Linked DNA regions of Homo sapiens: regions 2, 3 and 4 are each linked to region 1. Evidence: promoter capture Hi-C in human tissues and cell types (Jung and others, 2019). All regions are on one chromosome and are shown on one strand. The core of a region is centred on a gene start or on the middle of the fragment in contact, and the rest is flanking DNA. Distances in the headings are between cores, read along the strand shown.

Region 1 (2,700 bases), core at 173-2,672:
GAGGTCGGGAGCTCAAGACCAGCCACACCAACATGGAGAAACCTCGTCTCTACTAAAAATACAAAACATTAGCCAGGCGTGGTGGAGTATGTCTATAATCCCAGCTCCTCGGGAGGCTGAGGCAGGAGAATCTTTTGAACCCGGGAAGCGGAGGTTGTCGTGAGCCGAGATCGCGCCATTGCACTCCAGCCTGGGAACAAGAGCGAAACTCCGTCTCAAAAAAAAAAAAAAAAAAAAAAGTTACGTTATAATGCTATTACTACAGTTCTAAAGAATTTATCACATTTATCACTTTCTTTAAATATCAAAGAAGTATTTATTCCAGAATGGGAAGAACTCGTTAAAAATGGAGGCAAAGAACACCAGTTCCAGCCAAATTGCAGGGCTGTATTTTGTGCATTTTCGACACTATCTCAGAACTTAGGAAGGATACACTAGAAAGTGGTCGCTGCACCTGTTGGTCCCTTACTTTTCGGGTTGGTGGGAGAATTGAAGAGAGGAAGTGGGAATTTTCACTTTTTACTCTATGAATTGCTTTGCTGTTTAGATTTTTTTTTGACAACGAGGACACATTTCTTATTTAAGAACAAAATAAAAAAAGAAAACGGGGCTGGACCCTCGATGTGCTCAGTTAATCTGAACATCCAAGTTCCCCTGAACATCCAAGTTCACGTATGTACTTTGGTTTCGTCGCCTGAAGAGAGCTGATGGTGACACCTTCCCCTAATTTATGCAGGGAAACGTCAGAAAGGTTAAGTAGTCGCCAGACTATTTCAGGGAGAAACAGCCAAGAGAAAGGCTTCTCACAGATCAGAAAAACCTCTCACGTGAACTGGCGGGCAGTTCTAAGACTGACTGTCTGCCTTGTAACCCAGAAATTCAAGCAGAAGCTTTTTGGCTTTAGCGCCTTCCTTCTGCAGCAGGCACCCGAAGAGCCCGGGGAGCCCGGAGGCAGCCTGCGCGCAGGGAGGCAGGCAGGGGGAGAGGGCGCGCCGACCCCGGGACGTCCCGGGCTGTCAGCGGAGACCGGAGGGAGGCCGGAGAAAGTGCATCCTGAGCGACCCGGCCGGTCGCTGCCTTCCGGATCGGTCCCTTACCGAGCGCTGGGTACGTCCACCGGCCCAAGGCCGCCGCCGCCGCCGGGGCCGGCCAGCACGTCCCCGCCGTATTTCTCCTCCATCCCGGGGCTCACGAGCCGCCGCCGCTGCCCCTGTCGCGGGGTCTCCTCATGTCTCGCCGCTGCCGCGGAACAGCGGGTGCAGGCGCGTCACTCCCCCATGGCAGAGACCCCGTCGGGCTCCTGCAGGCCGGGCCGCCACTGCCGCCGTCGCCGGCTCCGGCTCACTAGCACACACGCGTCGGGACTAGGCCGCGATCAGTTCCGGCGGCGCCAGGTTCCCGGGAAGCAGCGGCGGTAGGGACGTTGCCAAGCCACGTCATCAGGCCCAGCAACCCTCACTCCCGGGGGAGTGCCCAGCCTTGCGTCTGCGCAAGCAGAACACTCGCCTTTCCTCGTCCCTTAGGCTCCTCCCGCCACGTTGTGTCGCATTGAAGCTCCGCCTCCTATCAGCCTCTCCGGGTGGCGCTCCCTGTGCACTTACCTGTCCCTACAGTGCCACCTATGGGCCGTCAGAAGTACAGCGGATTCCTGTAGGGCAGAGGGGGAGGGCGTGGAAAATGTACAGCGTGTGTGATTAAACAAAGCTCACCAATCTTTTCCTCTGCGTTAGGGATTCTTTTTTTTTTTGTTTTGAGATGGAGTTTCGCTCCTGTTGCCCAGGCTGGAGTGCAATGGCGCGATCTCGGCTCACGGCAACTTCCACCTCCCAGGTTCAAGCGATTCTCCTGCCTCAGTCTCCCAAGTAGCTGGGATTACAGGCATGTGCCACCACACCTGGCTAATTTTGTATTTTTAGTAGAGACGGGGTTTCTCCATGTTGGTCAGGCTGGTCTCGAACTCCTGACCTCAGGTGATCCACCCACCTCGGCCTCCCAAAGTGCTGCGATTACAGGAGTGAGCCACCGCACTCGGCCTAGAGATTCTTAATCTAGGTTAACATACCCTCTGCCTCTAAGTTTTTGTGAGTATGGATCATTTTTGTGATGAGAAGGCCCGAAGTCTTAAAAGTTCACGTGCCCTTCCCCCAACCAGAGATAACTATTTTTGAAGCTGTAGAGAATCAATTACAAATAGTGGTACGGCCATTTCTTTTGAACAATGCCTTTGATGGACTTTGGAGAGGAGAAACTAGTATTGACCAAAATTTGCCTCCTCAGCAAACTATCCCAGGGCAATTTTCTAGGAGTGACCACGTGCGAAACTTCATGGCCTTCTCTCCTACTCCTAAGGGAACCTAAAGGCAATTTCCAGATTTCTAAAGAAACATTCTTATCCTGGGCAACATGGCAAAACCCTGTCTCTATCAAAAATACAAAAACAATTAGCCAGGCGTGGCATATGCCTGTGGTCCCAGCCACTCAGGAGGGAGAGGCGGAAGGATCGCTTGAACGTGGGAGGTCAAGGTTGCAATAAGGCATGATCATGCTACTGTGCTCCAGCCTGGGCAACAGAGCAAGACCGTCTCTGGAAAAAAAAAAAAAAAGAAAGAAAAAGAAAGGATTCTTCTTTGCCACAGGGAGCCTGGGGTCATCTATCAAATAAAGTAACGGAGGAAGGTGACTGCTTTTGTGGCTTTTTGT
Region 2 (2,700 bases), core at 32-2,531, 290 kb before region 1:
GTCAGGAGTTTGAGACCAGCCTGGCCAACGTGGCAAAACTCCATCTCTACTAAATATACAAAAATTAGGCCGGCATGGTGGCAGGTTCCTGTAATCCCCACTACTCGGGGGAGGCTGAGGCATGAGAATTGTTTCAACCCAGGAGGCGGAGGTGGCAGTGAGCCAAGACTGCACCACTGCACTCCAGCCTAGGGGTTAAAGAGAGACTCTGTCTCAAAAAAAAAAAAAAAAAAAAGATTTTAGGCCAGGCATGGTGGCTCACGCCTGTAATCCCAGCACTTTGGGAGGCCACGGTGGGCATATCATGAGGTCAGGAGATCGAGACCATCCTGGCTAACACAGTGAAACCCCGTCTCTACTAAAAAATACAAAAAATTAGCCGGGCGTGGTGGCGGGCGCCTGTAGTCCCAGCTACTCCGGAGGCTGAGGCAGGAGAATGGCGTGAACCTGGGAGGCAGAGCTTGCAATGAGCTGAGATCGCGCCACTGCACTCCAGCCTGGGTGACAGTGACACAGCAAGACTCCATTTCAAAAAAAAAAAAAAAAAGATTTTAAAAGTTGTCCTTACTTCAACCAGAATTATCTTCTTATCAGTTCTCAGATCATCTCCAAGCATTTGTAACTTGTTATACTTTGTCGCTCTTAGTAGAAACTCTTTGAAAACTGCTATCTGAGACTGATAGGGAAACATATGGAAGCTTGATTCTGAAAGGAAACACATAACCACTTTTATTTTCAACAAATGATATACATTAATATTATACATCTGTATGTACACACACACATACTTGATGCATCTCACAATACTGTAGACTATTTCCCAATTAGGAAAAATCATTTAAATTTAAAATAGGATATTCCTTTCAAAGGACAAGAGTCAACATGTAGCCAGGCACAGTGGCTCACGCCTGTAATCCCAGCACTTTGGGAGGCCGAGGCAGGTGGATCGCTTGACCTCAGGAATTCAAGAGCAACCTGGGCAACATGGTGAAACCCGGTCTCTACAAAAAAATACACAAATTAGCCAGGTGTGGAGGCTTGTGCCTGTAGTTCTGGCTACTTGCAGGGCTGAGGCAGAGGGTGGGGGTAATAGCTTGAGCCCAGGAGGTGGAGGTTGCAGTGAGCCAAGATTGTGTCACTGCACTCCAGCCTGGGTGACAGAGTGAGACCCTGTGTAATATGGAGTTAACTGACCTAAGAACACAGCTGTCGGTATAACATTCATATAATTGGTAAAAATATCTATGACTGTGGCCTACCCAATGAAGAATCTCTAAATGAGTTCAAGCCTATAAATGAATTACCTTCAGTGATAAGGGTTTGGTTTGTTTGTTTTGAGACGGAATCTTGCTCTGTCGCCCAGGCTGGAGTGCAGTGGCGCAATCTTGGCTCACTGCAACCTCCACCTCCCAGGTTCAAGCAATTCTCCTGCCTCAGCCTCCTGAGTAGCTGGGATTACAGGAACACACCACCACGCCTGGCTAATTATTGAATTTTTAGTAGAGACGGGGTTTCTCCATGTTGGTCAGGCTGGAGTGATAAAGGTTTAACAACAAAAACAGAATAACTGATTAGTGAACTTGAGAATGAGGGAAGCTCTCTGAAGGCATGTTTCATATTGAAGACTGTTTAAGTTAAAGCTTATCAGACTGTCAAAAGTAATGCTACTATTTAGAAAGCAGTAAAAGCCAGATGCAGGAACACACGTCTGTAGTCCCAGCTACCCCAGAGGTTGGGTCGTGAGAATCCCTTAAATGCTTAAGAAGTTCATTCTAGACAATATAGTGAGACTTTCTCTCTTAAAAAAATGATAATAATAATGGGCCGGGCGTGGTGGCTCACGCCTGTAATCCCAGCACTTTTGGAGGCCGAGGTGGTTGGATCACCTGAGGTCAGGGGTTCGAAAACAACCTGACCAACGTGGTGAAACCCCATCTCTACTAAAAAATACAAAAATAAGCCGGGCATGGTGGTGGACGCCTGTAATCCCAGCTACTTGGGAGGCTGAGTCAGGAGAATTGCTTGAACCCAGGAGGCGGAGCTTGCAGTGAGACAAACCACTGCACTCCAGCCTGGGTGACAGAGCAAGACTCCATCTCAAAAAAAAAATAATAATAATAGTAATAATAATAATAAAGAAAAGAAAACAGTAAAAGCCCCAGCAGGATGGGATACTAGTAGCACAAGGGAGTACATTAAAGAAGAGTCCAGAGAAGGGATTTTGAGGAACACTCCACATTAAAATTATCCTTCTACAGAACCCTTTTCCCTTCAAAATGGCCTAGGAGATTTGGCTATCCCTAGTTTCACCACCTGGAGTTGCAATATGAAAAACTATGAAAGATAAAAATGATAGTGCTAAGGTACATAAGCATATGCATGAACTTATAACGTATTACATCTTTAAATTGGTACTATTGCCACGCATGGTAGCTCACGCCTATAATCCCAGCACTTTGGGAGGCAGAGGCAGGTGGATCACTTGAGGCCAGGAGTTCGAGACCAGACTGGCTAACATGGCAAAACCCCATCTCTACTAAAAATACAAAAACTAGCTGGGTGTGGTGGCACATGCCTCTAATCCCAGCTACTCAGGAGGCTGAGGCATGAGAATAGCTTGAGTCTGGGAGGCAGAGGTTGTACTCCAGCCTGGGCGACAGAGTGAGACTCTGTCTCAAAAAAAATAAAAATAAATAAAAT
Region 3 (2,700 bases), core at 1-2,500, 270 kb before region 1:
GGAGGTTGCAGTGAGCCAAGATTGTGCCACTGCACTCCAGCCTGGGCGACAAGAGTGAAACTCTGTCTCAAAAAAAAAATTTTACATATGATTGCTAATTAGGAAATTTTTCATTTCAGTCGTCAAGAACTTTTAAGGGCAGAGGCCAGGTGAGACTCTGTCTCAAAAATAAAAGGAAAGGCAGAAGGTGGACCGCAGTGTGATAAGTAGTATTTCACAAACAGTATTTTTCTGTGGCTTGTCTTACAGGTACACCAGGGGTTGGAAAAACCACACTAGGCAAAGAACTTGCGTCAAAATCAGGACTGAAATACATTAATGTGGGTGATTTAGCTCGAGAAGGTAAGGGACACTTTGGTGTTAGATTTGTTTTGTTTTTTTTTTAAGGTCTGGTAAGTGGAGTGTTAGTGCTGGGTATTGTCATAGGGTACAAAAAACAGAGATTGCCATTAAAGAATATATACTCTGTTAGGGAATCCACAGAAATATTAAGTGTCTAATGCTATGTCCTGGTTATTTTGACCATTTTCCCTTCCGCCTTCAAAATGGCTGGCAATTCTTGTGAATAGTTGGGAAGGCTCCTATAAAGAGACTGGATTTCGGATAGGTAGAATGTGAATAAGGAGAATGTTTTTAAGTTGAACAAACAAAGGTTTGGTACTGCTAAACATATATATGAGCACAGTGAGTATATTGGTCTCACTGGAAAGAGACTGTTTTGAGCTCAGGTGTGGGACCTGACTATGCTATGGTATCTTAGATTAGTGTGAGATTTGCATGCAACTGCATATATTCTAAGATGATCATTGTTTTTATTTATTTTACCCTGTTTTCCCCTAATCTTTCATCGCTCCCTTATTTGTGTCTTCATCTTTTTATAGTCGACAATGATTTGTACATGGTAGGAACTCAATAAATTAAAGCGACCTTAAGTTGCCTCATTAAAATTAAGAAAACATATGGTTTAAATTTTAAAAATTTTTTTACAGTTTAACATAGATTTAAAATTTTTTTAAGTTCCTGACAGTTGCTACTAAAGTAACTATTTCAGATTGATCTAATGTACATATTTTTTTCAAATGATCTAAAGTCTGATCATCGGATATCATGGAGTCTGGCAAGACGGCTTCTCCCAAGAGCATGCCGAAAGATGCACAGATGATGGCACAAATCCTGAAGGATATGGGGATTACAGAATATGAGCCAAGAGTTATAAATCAGATGTTGGAGTTTGCCTTCCGATATGTGACCACAATTCTAGATGATGCAAAAATTTATTCAAGCCATGCTAAGAAAGCTACTGTTGATGCAGATGATGTGCGATTGGCAATCCAGTGCCGCGCTGATCAGTCTTTTACCTCTCCTCCCCCAAGAGATTTTTTATTAGATATTGCAAGGCAAAGAAATCAAACCCCTTTGCCATTGATCAAGCCATATTCAGGTCCTAGGTTGCCACCTGATAGATACTGCTTAACAGCTCCAAACTATAGGCTGAAATCTTTACAGAAAAAGGCATCAACTTCTGCGGGAAGAATAACAGTCCCGCGGTTAAGTGTTGGTTCAGTTACTAGCAGACCAAGTACTCCCACACTAGGCACACCAACCCCACAGACCATGTCTGTTTCAACTAAAGTAGGGACTCCCATGTCCCTCACAGGTCAAAGGTTTACAGTACAGATGCCTACTTCTCAGTCTCCAGCTGTAAAAGCTTCAATTCCTGCAACCTCAGCAGTTCAGAATGTTCTGATTAATCCATCATTAATCGGGTCCAAAAACATTCTTATTACCACTAATATGATGTCATCACAAAATACTGCCAATGAATCATCAAATGCATTGAAAAGAAAACGTGAAGATGATGATGATGACGATGATGATGATGATGACTATGATAATCTGTAATCTAGCCTTGCTGAATGTAACATGTATACTTGGTCTTGAATTCATTGTACTGATATTAAACATGCATGCTGGATGTTTTCAAGTTGTGTTTTAGAAAACTAATAATAATGAGTAAACACAGTTACCATACTTTTCAATTGAAATGAAGGTTTTTCATCAGCCTTAAAAGTGTAAGAAAAATAAAGTTGTCATTCATTCGATTGTTGGTGCTTTGGCAGTTATGTTTTTAAAAGCAATTTTCTCCTTGTTGTCACCAAGAGGAGTAACAGTTGGCAGTTGCAGCAATTTGCAGTACTGCAGTCTATTTTTGACCACTAGAGTGTCACCTTAAACGTCTTCAGATACATAGATCATAGTATGATCTCTGGTGTGTACGTCACTCTTGTGATCTGTTCTCTCAGATTGCTGAAGTATAACCATGACTCCCCTTTGGAGAGACCAGTTGGTCAGGATTTTTATTCATAGTGAATTCTTAACCTGCTTTGATTATCTTCCTCAATTGCCCAACTTCCTAGGTCCCATTTTTCTGTCCTTTTGGTTATATTAAGGACCCTTAGTGTCTCCCAGTATGTCTCCACTTTTTAAAAAAAAATTTATAAGTGTCTCTTTTTGCAGGTTAATTTTGAGCATCTTTGTTTTTCATATTCCTGATACTATAAGCCAGTATCATGTTCATTTTTGATCCAGGGCTGATAATTAGGTTATAGTGTTTATATATATATATATTTTTTTTAATTTAAAATATTTTTTTGTCCAAAAGAACGTCAATTTATCAAGGTTATAGTTTCTAAAACCTAG
Region 4 (2,700 bases), core at 18-2,517, 350 kb before region 1:
GCACTCCAGCCCAGGCGAGGGAGTGAGACAGTGTCTCAAAACAACAACAACAACAACAACAACATTACTTAAAAAAAAACTGTGAACATACTTTTGTTCAAACATGTATACAGTATAATTGTTAGAAATTGAGGGCCAAGCACGGTGGCTCACGCCTGTAATCCCAGCACTTGGGAGGCCAAGGCGGGCAGATCTGGAGGTCAGGACTTCGAGACCAGCCTGGCCAACATAGTGAAACCCCGTCTCTACTAAAAATACAAAAAATTAGCCGGGCATGGTGGCAGGCGCCTGTAATCCCAGCTACTCGGGAGGCTGAGGCAGGAGAATCGCTTGAACCTGGGAGGCAGAGGTTGTAGTGAACTGAGATCGTACCATTGCACTCCAGCCCTGGCAACAGTGCAAAACTCCGTCTCAAAAAAAAAAAAAAAATTTGAGATATACCAGCCTGGGCAACATGGAAACCCCATCTCTTAAAAAAAAAAATTAGCTGGGCGTGGTAGCTTGCTCCTGTGGTCCCAGCTGCCCAGCTGCTCCGGAGTCTGAGGCTGGAGGGCTGCTTGAGCCTGGAAAGCAGAGGTTGCAGTGAGTTGAGATCACATCACTGCACTCCAGCTTGGGAGACAGAGCAAGACCCTGTCCAGGCGCAGTGGTTCACACTTGTAATCCCAGCACTTTGGGAGGCCGAGGTGGGTGGATCACTTGAGGCTAGGAATTCGAGATCAGCCTGACCAACATGGTGAAACCCCGTCACTACTAAAAATACAAAAATTAGCTGGGCGTGGTGGCTCACACCTGTGATCCCACCTACTCGGGAGGCTGAGGCAGGAGAGTCACTTGAACTCTGGAGGTGGAGGTTGCAGTGAGGCGAGATTGCGCCACTGCACTCCAGCCTGGGCAACAGAGAGAGACTCCGTCTTAAAAAAGAAAAAAAATTGAGGTAAAATACATGTATAATATATGTACAGTAAAAGGCACCAATTTTAAATGCTTAGCTTGATGGATTTTTAAATATGTATATATCCTGGTAAGCAACGAACCAGATGAAGGTATAGTACCCAGAAAGCTCCCTCATGCTCCTTCCCAGCCAATAAACCTCTCTCACAGGTAACCCCTATTCTGAATTCTATCATCAGAGGTTGGAGTTTCAAAATAACTTTCTTTTTTTTTTTTTTTTTCCGAGACTGAGTCTTGCTCTGTTGCCCAGGTTGAAGTGTGGTGGCGCGATCTCGGCTCACTACAAGCTCCGCCTCCCGGGTTCACGCCATTCTCCTGCCTCAGCCTCCCGAGTAGCTGGGACTACAAGTGCCCGCAACCAAGCCCAGCTAAATTTTTTGTATTTTTAGTGGAGACGCGGTTTCACCATGTTAGCCAGAACAGTCTCGATCTCCTGACCTCTTGATCCGCCTGCCTCAGCCTCCCAAAGTACTGGGATTACAGGCGTGAGTCACCGCACCTGGCCTCTCTTCTTTCTTTCCTTCCTTCCTTCCTTTCTCTCTCTCTCTCTTCCCTTCCTTCCTTCTTTTCTTCTTTTTCTTTCTTCTTTCTTTTCTTCTTTCTCTTTCTTTTCTCTTTCCCTCCCTCCCTCCCTTCCTCTCTCTTTCTCTCCTTCCTTCTTTCTCTTTCTTCTTTCTCTTTCCCCCTCCCCTCCCCTCCCCTCCCCTCCCCTCCCTTCCCTTCCCTTCCTTCTGCAGAGTCTTACTCTGTCACCCAGGCTGCAGTGCAGTGGCATGGTCTCAGCTAACTGCAACCTCCACCTCCTGGGGTCAAGCAATTCTCATGCCTCAACCTCTCGAGTAGCTGAGATTACAGGCGTGCACCACCACACCAGGCTAATTTTTGTACTTTTTTTTTTTTTTTTCTGAGACAGAGTCTTGCTCTGTCGCCCAGGCTGGGGTGCAGTGGCACGATCTCAGCTCACTGCAACCTCCACCTCTGAGGTTCAAGCGGTTCTCGTGCCTCAGCCTCCCGGGACTACCTCCAGGGACTACAGTGTGCGACAACACGCCCAGCTAATTTTTGTATTTTCAGCAGAGAAGGGTTTTTGCCATGTTGGCCAGGCTGTTCTCAAACTCCTGGCTTCAAGTGATCCACCCACATCAGCCTCCTAAAGGGCTGGGGTTACTGGCATGAGCCACCACCCCTGACCTAATCAATTTTCTATAATAAATATATTACCTATATACTTTTTAAAAAAGCTTTTTATAACTTTTATTATTCAAAAGAAGTCATTTTGATAGTCTATAGCCACCTTATTATTTAACACAATGAAAAGTATATTTTGAGTATCTAGCCACCAGTTATTGAGCAAGTATCTTCGTGGTGTTTTACATTATTTAATTTTCACAACAATTTCGTCAGGTGGTATTATCGCCACATCACAGTTAAGGAGGCTGATGGTTGGAGATGTTAATTTGTCAAGGCCACATAGTAAGAAATGGAGTCTTGGTTGTGATGAGCTCAGAAGTTCACCTTCTTCGCCTTCTGCGGGGCTAAACCATCCCTCCTGCCTTCTGCCTATCCCCAGTTTGTCTATTATAGGACAAGTAGTCTATTACATGCTCGAGCAGGTCTGTCATACTCTCCTTTAAAAACCCATTGAAAGCAGCCGGGCATGGTGGCTCATGCCTGTAATCCCAGCACTTTGGGAGGCCAAGGCAGGTAGATCACTTGAGGTCAGGGGTTCAAGACCAGCCTGGCCAG

The links. The method cuts DNA at HindIII sites, captures the fragments that hold promoters and counts their contacts. A contact is called where the count stands out against the background at its distance.
Region 2: a fragment that was not itself captured here is called in contact with the fragment with the promoter of SLC30A5 in region 1 in 2 of the 25 tissues and cell types used here (IMR-90 fibroblasts and stomach).
Region 3: a contact is called between a fragment that was not itself captured here and the fragment with the promoter of SLC30A5 in region 1, in 1 of the 25 tissues and cell types used here (hippocampus).
Region 4: a contact is called between a fragment that was not itself captured here and the fragment with the promoter of SLC30A5 in region 1, in 1 of the 25 tissues and cell types used here (lymphoblastoid cells).

The regions. Positions count from the first base shown.
Region 1 is chr5:69,092,736-69,095,435 of GRCh38, reverse strand. SLC30A5 (solute carrier family 30 member 5) reads right to left here and starts at 1,422. Exons shown (of 16, transcript NM_022902.5): 1 at 1,098-1,422. The coding sequence starts at 1,180. RefSeq lists silencers at 640-934, 980-1,269, 1,600-1,709 and an enhancer at 1,400-1,499. The HindIII fragment of the contact is 15,344 bases long and covers 1-2,700 here.
Region 2 is chr5:69,382,802-69,385,501 of GRCh38, reverse strand. RAD17 (RAD17 checkpoint clamp loader component) reads right to left here. Exons shown (of 19, transcript NM_133338.3): 8 at 569-705. Among named protein-coding and RNA genes, the nearest start is that of RAD17, 14 kb to the right of the region's middle. The HindIII fragment of the contact is 4,917 bases long and covers 1-2,700 here.
Region 3 is chr5:69,364,145-69,366,844 of GRCh38, reverse strand. It overlaps AK6 (adenylate kinase 6), which reads left to right. Exons shown (of 5, transcript NM_016283.5): 2 at 250-342. It overlaps TAF9 (TATA-box binding protein associated factor 9), which reads left to right. Exons shown (of 3, transcript NM_003187.5): 2 at 250-342; 3 at 1,091-2,102. The coding sequence starts at 1,108. The coding sequence ends at 1,902. Among named protein-coding and RNA genes, the nearest start is that of AK6, 4.0 kb to the left of the region's middle. The HindIII fragment of the contact is 3,949 bases long and covers 1-2,700 here.
Region 4 is chr5:69,446,232-69,448,931 of GRCh38, reverse strand. No RefSeq gene overlaps it. Among named protein-coding and RNA genes, the nearest start is that of MARVELD2, 32 kb to the right of the region's middle. The HindIII fragment of the contact is 6,025 bases long and covers 1-2,700 here.